2 separate regions of the Homo sapiens genome follow, and region 1 is linked to region 2. The links are contacts of gene promoters, found by promoter capture Hi-C in human tissues and cell types (Jung and others, 2019). All regions are on one chromosome and are shown on one strand. The core of a region is centred on a gene start or on the middle of the fragment in contact, and the rest is flanking DNA. Distances in the headings are between cores, read along the strand shown. Region 1 overlaps MCHR2-AS1 (MCHR2 antisense RNA 1). Region 2 holds the start of SIM1 (SIM bHLH transcription factor 1).

Evidence for each region. Contacts are between HindIII fragments. The study calls those that stand out against the background at their distance.
Region 1: a fragment that was not itself captured here is called in contact with the fragment with the promoter of SIM1 in region 2 in 1 of the 25 tissues and cell types used here (lymphoblastoid cells).

What each region holds. Positions count from the first base shown.
Region 1 is chr6:100,061,637-100,068,176 of GRCh38, forward strand. All of the region lies in intron 2 of MCHR2-AS1 (MCHR2 antisense RNA 1), which reads left to right. Among named protein-coding and RNA genes, the nearest start is that of MCHR2, 71 kb to the left of the region's middle. The HindIII fragment of the contact is 3,549 bases long and covers 2,359-5,907 here.
Region 2 is chr6:100,462,733-100,469,383 of GRCh38, forward strand. It overlaps SIM1 (SIM bHLH transcription factor 1), which reads right to left and starts at 2,189. Exons shown (of 12, transcript NM_005068.3): 1 at 1,882-2,189; 2 at 562-1,203. The coding sequence starts at 736. RefSeq lists an enhancer at 4,921-5,512. The HindIII fragment of the contact is 4,452 bases long and covers 103-4,554 here.

The DNA.
Region 1 (6,540 bases), core at 2,883-5,382, 400 kb before region 2:
ATGTACAATATTTTCTTTATCTATTCATCTGTTAATGAACAGTTATGTTGTTTCCAAATCTTGACAATTGTGAGCAATGCTACACCAAACATGGGAGTGCAGATATCTCTTTAATATACTGATTTAATTTCATTTGGGTACATACCCAGCAGTGGGATTGATGGGTCATATGGGAGCTCTATTTTTCGTTTTTTGAGAAAGCTCCGTTTGGAGCTGTTTTCCATGGTGCTTGCACTAACTTACATTCCCGTGAACAGTGCATGAGGGTTCCCTTTTCTTCACATCCTCTCCAGCATTTGCTATTATCTGTCTTTTGGATGAAAGCCATTTGAACTGGGGTAAGACGATATCTCATTGTAGTTTTGACTTAACATTTCTCTAATGATCAATGGCATTGAGCACCTTTTCATATGCCTGTTTGCCATTTGTATGTCTATTCAAATCTTTAGCCCATTTTTTAATCAGGTTATTAGATTTTTTCCAATAGGGTTGTTTGAGCTCCTTATATATTCTGGCTATTAATCTCTTGTCAGAAGGGTAGTTTGCAAATATTTTCTCCCATTCTGTGCGTTGTCTCTTCACTTTGTTGATTGTGTCCTTTGCTGTGCAGAAGCTTTTTAACTCAATGTGATTCCATGTGTCCATTTTTGCTTTGGTTGACTGTGCTTGTGGAGTATTCCTCAGGAAATTTTTGTCCAGACCGATGTCCTGGAGATTGACCTCAATGTTTTCTTGTAGTGTACTAGGATTCTTAAAAGCCACTTTTACAGATATCTATGTACATAAACAAATACGTTTATGCCTTTTCATTTAAAAATAGATTTTAAGTTTATTTTACTAAAATACTGAGTTATCAGTGTGTAAGTCTAAAACATTATTCAATGGAATAATGTGCTTTTTCAAGCACTACATAATTCCAAACAAAATAAATTCGATGGCATAAGGAGAGAGGCACCAAAATCTACCTCTATGCTCCCCTTTCATCCAAGACATAAAAGAAAGCAGCAGCAATCATTTCTTCTGCTAACCCCAGTAAGTAACTAATGCAGAATGCTTTGATGTGTTTGACAGACAATTCCCAAATGTGGTTTTTAATCCATAGTCACAGAGCTACCTGGTTCATTCTCTAAAATTTCTCATGTGGAAATTTATTACGTATTCACATGCACTCATGCTGAAAGCCTCCTTTGCTTGCTACTTAATCACATTTCCTAAATGACTGTCCTACAGCCATTAAGTTTATTAATGGAATCCCAAACAAAGGAATTTAGCTTTCATAATAGCACCAAAGAAAACTTGCCAAAATTACTCCTTAGAATTTTTTTAAATGACATGTCAAAATTCCACGCGTATACAAGATTGTTTGCCATAGCGAACAATCTTTAGATTGGAGACAATCTAAAGGCTCATTAAGAGGTTAAAAATATTTGATACATAATTGGTATGTAAATATTACAATCCACTTATGGTACATGTTATGGAGTATCACATAGCTGTTAAGAAGAATGAGAACTTGTCTGTACTCACATGGAAAGAAAAATATTAAGTAGAAAATAAAGCTAGTTGCATAACAGATGTTTGTCAAAGAGTTAGCAGTGTTAACTTCTTGAAGCTATGCATTAGAGGCCTGGGAAGTGGTACAGAGGTTAATTTCACTTTCTACATTATTTCATATTGCTTAAATTTCTCACAATAACCATACATATTTCAAAAATCAAAGCAAAAAGCTCTTCCAGCAACACTTGTAATTACCTCTTAAATATACAAAATTATTTAGACATGCAACTATTAAGAATTCATATAATACTTGTGAAATTGCATCCTCTTTTCAGGAACTGAATAGAAAATGGATAGAAATTATTTTTTTTCCAGAGCCAGACTAGCTTATGTTAAAAGGTTTCAACCCAAATGTGCTCTCTCTTTATCTCACCATTCTTTTTAAAAATCAAGGTCTCTAAAGCAGAATCTTCATGTTGCTTTCTCTTAGTAAATGTTATGGTATTATATCACTATATTCTGGCTTCGAAAAATGAATTATTAGGCCCTTCATTTAATTTTTGCCTTTTTCCTCAAATAACAGAGGGCATCTTTAACATGAGTTAGTCATCCTTACCTATGGTCATGATATTTCCATTTGTCATGCCGTGCCCCTTGCCAACCTCATCTTTCCCATTCTCTATTATCCTAAATGTATACTTCCAACCCCCACCTTTCCCACTTCCACCCTGGAAGATCTTTTAGTTACCCACAACCCAGGTTGGAGGACCTGTTTACTATTTTATGCACCCCCACAATGTTATGATCAGAGTTATTTATGCAAAAATTCCCGTTAAAGCTATAGAATGTGTAGGTTAGAATCAAACACTTGCACCTATTAAACACTCTATGAAGAGTGACCTCTTCCTGAAAGTCTTGTCTGTGCTTTCTATTGTTCACACTTCACTGAATATTAGCTCTACCAGTGAAATCTCATGCAACAAAACTATTCTTTTTCTTAAAAAACTTCTTAATTGTGGATCTTGTGTATAGCAGAATATTTGCATAAAGTTGTTTTGATATTGTAAGTCAATGTTGTTTTTCTTTAAGTATATGTACTAATGTAGAAGGTGTGCAATGCCAGAAAGTACAAGGGGGATTGAACAGGTGTTTTGGAGGTATCAATTTTGCAATGAGTATTAGCTACATCTGGAATTTCATATTCCAAGAGTTGGATTTCACTCGTGTTATGAACTCATGATATTACAGGCCTGAAATTCAGCCCCTGCTTTTTAATAACTGTGCAATATTCAACAACTTACATAACTCTAATTCTTTGTTTTCTCACAAAATGAAGAAAATAATAACCATTTCAGTCATTTGTTGGGACAATTAAGCAGGAGGAATTGTGAAAACATCCAGCACAATGCCTAACATACAAGCACTCAATATGTTCATTCCTTCTTTCTTTTTTCCCTTCCTCAAAAAGAATTGAAAGAAATAGGACCCTTAATCTCTATAAGAGGCATAACGATGGAAAAATTCAACACCACTGGGCCTTCAATGCAAGCTATAAATCACTTACAAAAGTGAAAACACATATTTGGGGTTATTACTCAAATGAACTGTAGATCATGATAAGATTACACCAGCCATACTCTAGTGAAACTTAGGTGTCATGAAGAAAAAAAAAAGATCAATTAAATGATGATTTTTTTATGCCTTTGTGAAATATATAAGGAGATTTTTATCAGAAGCAAACTGAGTTTTTCTGCTTATTTACAAGAAATCAAAGAGAATGAAATGGGATTTATATAGGAAAGATTTTGATGGAAATAACAAAACGAAATGTTAAAGAGGGCAGAGAGCTCCGGATACTTCAGGGTATCAAAGTCTTCTGGTAAACTTTTAGGTTTATGACTCTTTGATTGCATTTTAATCAATACTTAATAGTTATTGGTGTTTGTGATCACAATATTTAAAGGTTATTTGTTAGTATGTTCACATCCAACAATTCTTCTATTAATGTTCCTTGTTCATTAAGAAACTGTGAAATGTAGATGCTGAATGTTTATTATTTGAATTAGGCTTTTTTAAAGACATGGTCTTTCTCTGTCACCCAGGCTGAAGTCCAGTGGCATGATCTCTGCTCACTGCAGCCTTGACCTTCTGGGCTCAAGTAATACTCCTACCTCAGCCTCCCAAGCAGCTGGGACTACCCATATGCACCACCATGCCCAGCTAATTTTTGTATTTTTTTAATAGAGATCAGGTTTCTCCCTATTGCCCAGGGTGATCTCGAACTCCCAAGCTCAAGTAATCTGCTCACTTTGGCCTCCCCAAGTGCTGGGATTACAGACATGAGCCACTGTACCCTGCCTGAATCAGGCATTTTAACATAAGATTAATGAAAGGGAAAATTCTTATCAGCTCCTTCCACACCACAAGTGTTGAAATGATAAGCTCAACATCATACTACACAGTACAATGCACAAATGATGGAGTATAAAGTGGCTTATTCTGATAGAAAGCCACCCTTTGCAAAGTGGCCTTTGTGCTTAATTTTTAAATAGAAATGAAGGCCAGAGGCTTCCTTCTGTCTCACCACTTTTGATTACCCCAGGTAAGCTTCTATTCAACAACTCAAGAATAGGAAACTATAAATGCTATTATTTAAAATCAACATCAAATTGTGAGGAAATAAATACACTCTCAAGACTATTTTCGTTCTGGAATTTTGTACTTAAAAATGTGTTTGCATGTTTTTAACCTTTTGGGCTGAAGTACATCCTTTATATACCGAATTTGCTGAGTACTTTTTTCATGAAAGAATGTTGAATTTTCTCAAATGCTTTTTCTGCATCTAATGAGATGATTATATTATTTTTGTACTTCATTCTTTTAATGTGGTGTATCACATTTATTGATTTGTAAACATTGAACCATCTTTGCCTTCAAGGGATAAATCCCCCGGATTATGGTGAACGACCCTTTTAAAGTGTTGTTGAATTCAGTTTGCTAGTATCCTGTTGAGTATTTTTGCATGTATGTTTATCAAGGATATTGGCTTGTAGCTTTCTTTTCTTGTGATGTTTTTATCTGGCTTTTGTATCAGAGTCACGCTGGCTTCATGAAAAAGTGTGGAGGTATTCCACCATCTTCTGTTTTTGTGGAAAAGATTGTGGAGGATTGGTAGTAGTTCTTTAAATGTTTGATAGAATTCAGCAGTTAATCCATCAGGTCCTGTGCTTTTCTTTAACAGGAAACGGTTTTTTTTTTTTTTTTTTTTTTTACTTATTCACTTGTTATTGCTCTGTTCAGATTTTCTATTTCTTAATTATTTAGTCTAGACAGGTTGTATGTTTCCAGGTATTTATCCAGTTCTCCTAGGTTATGAAATTTGGGGGCATATAATTGTCCATAAAAATCTCTTATAATTCTTCATATTTCTGTAGTGTCAGTTATGTCTCCACTTACATTTCTGACTTTGAGTCTTTTTTTTCTTTTGTTAGTCTAGCTAAAAGGTGTCCATTTTGTTTATCTTTTCACAAACGAACTCTCAATTTGATTGATCTTTTGTATAATTTTTCTGATCCTTATTTTCTCCTTTCTTTTGCTAACATTGGGTGTAGGTAGTTCTTTTTTCTGTTTCCTTGAGGCATAATGTTAAGTTGTTTATTTGAGACCTTTCTTCTTTTTTGACATAGACATTTATTACTATTAACTTTCCTCTTAGAACCACTTTTGTTGCATCTTGTAAGTTTTGGGATGTTGTGTCTTCATTTCTTGTTTATCTTGACATATTTTTAAATTTCCCTTTTAATTTCTTCATTGACCCATTTGTTGTTCAAGAGCATGTTACTTAATTTTCATGTATTTGCTAATCTTCTGAAAATCCTAATATAAAAGATAGTTTTATATTATTGTGGTTGAAAAAGATATTTGATATGATTTTAATATTCTTAAATTTGATAAGACTTGTATTGTAGCCTAACTTATAAATTCTCCTGGAGAAAGATTTGTGTGCTCTTGAGAAGAATGTGTATTATGTTGTTGGATGGAATGTTCCATGAGTGTCTGTTAGGTTCATTTAATCTAAAGTGTTGTCCAAGTCCAGGGTTTCATCATTAGTTTTCTTTCTTAATGATCTATTCAATATTGAAAGTGGTGTATTAAAGTCCCCTGCTTTTATTGTACTGGAATCTATCTCTCCCTTCAGATCCTTTAATGTTTGTCTTACATATCAGGTGCTCCACTGTTGGGCACATGTATGTTTACAATTGTTATGTCCTTTTGATGTTGACTCCTTTATTATTATATAATGACCTTCTTTGTCTTTTTTTTCAATTTTTGACTTAAGTCTATTTTGTCTGATATAAGTGTCACGACTTCTGCTCTTTTAATTTCCATTTGCATGGAATATCTTTTTTCATCCCTTCACTTTGTCTATGTGTGTCCTTAAAAGTGAAGTGAATTCCTTATAGGTAACGTAATTGGATCCTTTTTTACATTTTATCCATTCATTCACATTATGTCTTTTGACTGCAGAATTTAATTCTTTTTTATTTAAGGTAATTATTGATAGCAAAGAACTCACTACTGCCATTTAAAAAATTGTATTCTGGTTGTTTTGTAAATACCTTCTTTCTTTCTTCCTTTCTTTCTGTCTCGTTTTGTGGTTTGATGGTTTTCTGTAGTGGTATGATTTGAATATTTTACATTTTTGTTGTGTGTATCTATGGAATTTTGCTTTATGGTTACCATGAGGCTTACATTGAACATTGTACATTTAGTCTATTTCAATCTGATAACAGCTTAAGTTTAATTATATACAATGCTACACTTTTACACTCTTTTCAAATTTTACATTTTTGATGGTTGAATTTACATCATTTTATAATACATATCTGTTGAAAATTTATTTCAGCTATAGTTTTCATTAATGTATTTTCACCCTTGAAATGGAGATAAAGTTACTTTACGTACCACAATTACACTTTAAGGGCATTCTGAATATTGCTCTGTATCACTTATACCATTGGGTTCCGTGCTTTTGTAAGTTTA
Region 2 (6,651 bases), core at 939-3,438:
TGAAAACTCGGAATAAATTTGCTTAGAATTTATTTAAGAACTTGAGTAAATTCAGGCATACTTGTTCACAAATATGCATGTTACTCATTTGCAAATCTTTAGATATATAGAGAAATTATTATCTGGCCTATCTAGCTCCAGGTACATGGGTCTATCCACACCTGGCAAAAAAAAAATACAGAATTAGGCGGTGCTCCTGGTTTTTACTGGACAAAATTCTAACAAGAGGAGTAAAAAAGAAAGTCATGTTTGGATTAGTAGTACTTTCAATTGAGCCTAGTATCTGAAGTGTTGACAAAAGGACTGTTGGGCTGCTTCCCAACCAAACATATCTGATGGACTGAAGAGAAAGTATTGATGGGGAGGTAGAGGGAGCCTCAAAAAAGCGACAGAAATTCTGAGTTCAGTGAGGACCTTAGTGAAGCAGCCGAGCTAAACTTCCCTTTGCAAAATATATATGTAAATATGTATGCATTTCTCTGGTCACTGATGTCGGCTCATTGCCTGGCAAATCCCCGGCCCCTTCTGCCTTTGAAATTCCATCTGGGCAAAGTCACTTACCTTCTGGGAACACCACTCTCATTTTGAGATAGCTGGTCGTGAGTCTGATTATGGATGCTTTGTCCAGCTGCGAGGTGATAGCCGAGGGCAAAGGCAGTAATTTAGCCAGTTCATAAAATTCACTGTTTTCCTTCTCCCTCCTAGTCCGCGCAGCATTTTTGGACTTTTCTTTCATTGTGTCTTGTTCCCCCTTTCTTCTCACAACTTAAGCTCCGCAGATTCATCCAAAACCAAAAATAAACTTTCAATTAGAGATCATATTTGGCAAAAACATAAAACATACTTTGAATAAAGAGGCTGAAGTATTTGCACCAAGAACAGTGTATTGATGGCAGTAAAAGACCAGCGGGGGTGAACGGAAAATATGTTCTTTGAAAATTCGGGATGCAGTATAGGAAAGTTGCTGATCCACCGAATTTGGGCGATCCACCGAATTTGGGCAATCCTGAGGGTCGTTCAGGGTATCAAATGCCAGTGGGACCCCTGAGGAGCCAGCCTTTTCTTCTACTGCCAGCTGCGAACCCTGGTCCTCGGAAAATCGACATAATAATCCCTGACGTTTGCTCTTCAGTCTCGCGGCATTTAAGGTATCTCCGAGCCCCTTTGGGAAGAGCAGGAACCCCAGACAACTCTTTCAAGGCCCTGTGAAGACAACAGCATCAGAGCATAAGAGATCAGCGGCTCCACAAGTACTCACACACTCGTCCCAATTCCAAAAACACGGCCGGAAAGGGCCTCAGTGCGCCTAGCCAGGCGTTTTGGGTTTGTTTTTAAAGAAACGGGTAAATCGGCAGCGAGACAGCCCCCTGCAAATAATGCTGGCATTCCCTCACCCATGCCAGCCGCATCCTCCAGACCCCTGGGAAGTTGCCCAAACAACAAAATACATATTTCTGAAGACCCGCAAGGGATCTTCCGCCGCGGATCCCCGAGTCCGCGCCCAGGCCGGGCGCACGTCCCAGGAAAGCAGGTTTCCGCAAATCAGAATTCCTCCAAGGCGAGGCAGGGGCCTTTCAGCTCCCTACCTTGGCAGATCTGGACCTTGGCTACCTCTTTAACTTGGGTCTCAAGTCTGAGGGATTCCTCAAAAAGTGACACTTACACACCAAGTCTCTCGGGACTCCCAAGGCGACCCAGCGCTCTGGCTGCCCAGCAGGGGCTGCAACAAGCGGGGCCCAGCAGCGCCAGGTTAACAGGTGGCGCGCTCGCGACAGCCCCTCGCAGGCTCCCCCGGGGGTGGGAGGCGCCGCGGCCTCTCCCACACCACCGCGGAGCTGCGGGGCTGCTGGGCGGGCGCGGGGCGTCTTCTGCTTCACCTACCTTCAGTCCCCACAAGCGGCAGAGGTTTCGGGGGCGCCCATCTCTTAACTGTTCTCATGCCTACCGTCCAACCCAGCGACACCGCCGGCCTCTCCGCTTCCCACCGGCAGAGAGGAGCAGAGCATTCCCGGCTCCCTTTTCTGGATCATGAATTGGAGGAGGGGTGCGTGGCAGAAAGAGGAGGATGCAAGCTTTGGGACGAGTGAGGTGATTTTAGAATCCTGGTCCTCCGTAGTTGCTACGAAGCCAGTTCACTATTATTCCTAATTGGAAGCCGAAAACTGCCCCCCGTAACTTCTTTATAGCTTAAGGGTTTAGCTTCAACTTCACTCCGGGGCCGCCTCTCTCCCGCCCTCCCTCAATGCCACTCACAAGCCCCCTCGCCTCCCATTGGCCTGGCGCGGCCAGGGGCGAGGCGCTCATTGGCCAATAGGGCTGAGTGACACGAGTCGGCCCCGAGCCGCCCTCCGCGCGCCCAGGCTCCGGGCTCTGAATCTTACTACCCGCGGGACCGCTGGACTCCTAATGAGCTCAGGGTGCCGGGTCGGCGCTGTCCGGTTGCCGCCGCTGCTCGCGGCCTCCTGGGCCTTCCCGACGTCGTGCGCGACCCGCGCTCCTCGAGCTCCCTGGGGTCGGGTGGTTGAGCGCTCAGTCCAGCGCGGCGGCCCAGCAGAACCGGGAACGTCCGGAGGCAGCGGAGGTCGGGCCTGCGGGTTAGGTCTACCGGCGGAGGAGGCAGGGTTCGCCCAAAGGCCCATCCCGCTGGCAGTCGCTGGCCGACGGCGTGCGCGAGGCCGGTTTGGGGAGTTATTTTCTCTTTCTCGTTTCTCTGAAACCATGGCGACACGGAATTCATTGCCAGAGGAAATAAATACAATAACTGTCTTTAAATTAATCCCAAAGAAGTGCGTCTTTTTCGAAATGGCTTGGGTTTGGGGCTGATTTTTTTCACCGTGGAAACTCGGCCGGGGAGTTTTCCTATGGGGAGCAGCTAGGGGGACACTAGGGGAAAAGCTTACATTTCAGGGCAAAATAGAATGATTGATATAGAGATACATAGCTCCCAACAGTCCTTTATCTTAAACATTAGCCAACTCTTTGTCGGGTTTTGTTTCAGGAAACAAAAGTCCAACATGATTATTCCTTACAGAAAGGATACAGTCTACATGAATGAACTTAACGATGCTCGCGGTTCCCTAATAGGAGCTGTTTAAACAAACGCTCACCAGGACTCTTGCTGACTAATTATCTTTTAGAGACCCTCTAATTTGAACCGCCTTCTCTTTCTCTCATCTGAGAAAACACAACAGGTAGCATCAAGAAAAAGTCAAATTGTCCCAAAAACAATTGTTGTCCTCACGAATCACCCCCTACAGACTCGACTCCCGGCTTGGTTTTGGTACGCCGGTGACCAGATTCGGCTCCTAGAGGTGCGTTTGGAGGGAGTTGTTTCATCTACCATAAAAATCAGTGAGAACACCAGTGACGGGGCACTCATCCTCTCGTTTGTGGCGCTAATTGCCACTGAGAAAATAAATACTTTGAAGAGGGGTGTGTGCCATTCTGCTGATATTCAGAACAACTTTAAGAGTGTTTGTTCAAAAATACAGACATCTGCCACCTCCTTGCCGCCCGATGGCAGTAAGATAGTCGTAGAAGGACAACAGCAGCTTTCTGGTGTTATTTACATATCTGGGCAACACCTGGCTGGAGGAGGTGAAAGTTTTGGATAGAAAGAAAAAGAAAGAAGCACGGAGATTTTGTAGGTCTTTCAAAACTGGAATCCAGCTAATGGACTCTAATCTAGGAGGAGTCATTTCCCCAGTGGCTGTAGCCACTTAGAGATCTGGTTCTGGGCGCCTTCCAACCACCCAATGATGCGCTTTTAACAAGACATAGCTAGAAGATAGCGAGAGATGCACTGTGGCTCACTTATACACAAGATTCCAGAAAGATCAGATAAGGTCAAGTTGGCTACTACATGTAAAGTCGGGGGTGGAGGGTGCGTGTGGAGAGGGGAAATAACCTTTCTTGACCCTCCTCTCCCCTCCAACCAGGTCACATATAGCTGCCAGGCGAAGCAATGACACTTAGGGTTAAGAGGAGGTTTTCCATTCGACTGTGTTCTAGAGAGGATTTCAGTCAAGACCGCGGTTACTCTAACCCTATCTCTACTTAAAACAACATGCCGGTGTGGAAGTGCCTCTCTGGGGTTTGAAACCTGTGTCCACAGCAGGGACTTCCGGGGGGTGGAGGTAGGGAGTCAGGTAATGCTGGGTTTCCAGAAGAAAAAATGCAGTAATTTTGCCTTCAGAAGCAAGATGGGCAAAATGAGTAAGGAAGTCTTCACGCTTAAGGCTGACGTCCTGGGGGGCTGGGCGGGCTGTTCCAATGTCCCAGTGAAGCTCAGTTGTCAATGAGCCAAGTAGATGTCGTTTAATAAACAAAGTGAATGCACGACCACGAGGTGACGGCCTCTCGCTAAGTCCTCAGCACACAACTGTCTGAGCCGCGTTTACCGAGAGAGTGAATTAGCATGACGACGTAACACCTGTTTTTCTAATCTTTGAACCTAGGTTGGAGCCGGAACGCTGCTCCTTCACTCCCCCTCCCGGGCCCAGGGACCTGGCTTTGCACCCTCCCCACGACCCCGCCTGCCAGCCCCCCACGCGCCCTGTAGCCGGAGGCGTGAACCGTGAACCGGAACCTCAGGTGCCTCCCACGTGTTCTGCGAATTTACGTTCGCCTCTAGCACGGGAAATTTTAAATGAATTTCTTGAAGCTCAGAGACTAATCGTTTTGCCAATATAAGGAGAAAAGCCCCAGAAAGGAAGAGACGGTCACGGGCGACCCACTAACCCCAAATAGAGATCCTTATAGAGTCTAGGCCGCCACCTCCTTGAGCCGGTGGCCTTAAAACCTAGCCTCTGGCCCTCAGGCACCCAGAATGCGATCCTGATGTGGGAGAAAACCCATGCGGGGCTGCAAAAAAGTGTCTCCCTCCTTCCCCCACCAAGCAGGGCGAACAGCCTAGTGTGATGGCGACACTGTTCCCCCAAGAGTCCCTGCCACTTCTGGGGCAACCCAGGATGCTGCCCTCATGGAGCCTGCCCCGGACCCCGGAGGCCAGGACATGCAGGCGTCCGTGACTCTACCCCAGGGGAGCCAGGCCGGGTAGATTCTGGAACCAACGCGCCTTTGTGAGCAATGTCTAGCATGCCGCGCGCACCCAGAAAGAAGGGGGAGCGGGCACCTCAAGGGCCTTCTGACCCCTCCCCGCAAAAGGCAAAATCAAGACTACAGAAGGTGAACTTTCGGTTGTAAAAGAACGAGTGAACACATACTGGAATTCCGGTGCAAACCGCCGAACCGGGGTTCAATGCCTCGGCCCCCGACCCTTGCTCTGGCACAGACCTCCACCCTGCCTTCCAAAAACTCCTCTAATGACTCTTCTTTGCTCCAGGCTGTTTGAGCATCTTATCAAAACTAGAATGATTTCTGTCCACCACCATTCTCTTTATTTTTTTGCAGACTGCTAGGGACGCACACATACACTTTTGCATGCTCGCACATCCCACATGCACAGTTGCACAAAGCACACACACATGGATTTTGCTCAATGTCCAAGGTCAGGATGAAGGATATATTTATAACCAAGATACAAAATCTGAAGATGGTCACTCGAACATCTCAGTATGTTACATCCAGATGTTCACTCTGTCACTGAAAAGGACAAGTTATCTAGGGACATATTATTGTCTTAGGAAATATTAACATTTTCTAGTTCCAAGTATATTAGTTAACGTAATCCTGTCCTAGACTCATTTATTTTTACCACATTTAGACATTTACATCTCTGAGAGTCGTTATGATGTTGAGGCAGAAACAAGGGCCACTTGTAGCCTTGACCCTAAACAAAGTGTAGAAGGAGCCCCCCAAAATATGGTCATATTTACTATTTAGAAGTTATGGTAAATATTACTTGTCTGATCAGGACGTTTTGAAAAGTATATTTTATGTATATAAATATAAAAAAACCCTTTTCCTAGGTACTGCTTTTCAGTTGTCTCCCTAAATTGACCCGTGAAATACCCCCAAATTCACTTCAGTGGTTACACACTGGAAAAAAAGAAAGAAAGAAAAAAAGAAAATGCACCAAGTTGGAAAATGAGATTGGCGAATACAAGTAAGGGTTTCATATAGTTTCTCTAAATATTCTGGTTAATTTTCCAGATATTGGAAACCGTGGTCTAATATATAACCTTGAACGGCCGCTGGGAAATAAGTGCTTCTTGAATTGTGCACCACTGTATTTGCAGACATAAATTTTAAGCTTTAAAGAATATAATTATTTTAAAATATAATTGCTAGCTGGAAAGAGGTCTGATTCTGTGCATTCTGAGGATGGGAGCAGGTGGGTGCCTGCCGCTCCAGGTGCCTGCGCTTTCACACTTTTCTTTTCCAGAAATCGAGCGGAGGACGCTGTGTGTGCATAAATTTCAGCAACGCTGAATACAGGCACTCAACTGAGGCGTTCTAACTCTGGAGATGAACACTGGATTGGAAACTCGGGTTGAAAAACACTTTGATTCTTAAATCGGTTCCCGAATTTCAGACCAAACTCGGGGTCACTTGGCATGGAGGTGGGGGAGGAGGGCGGCTTTTAAATATAAACCCTAAGGCCCCACCTTGATTTAGGAATAGGAAATCCCTGTCCGAATCGGGAATTGGCATTCCGTAAGGGAGCGGAGGGCCTCAGGCCACTAGGCA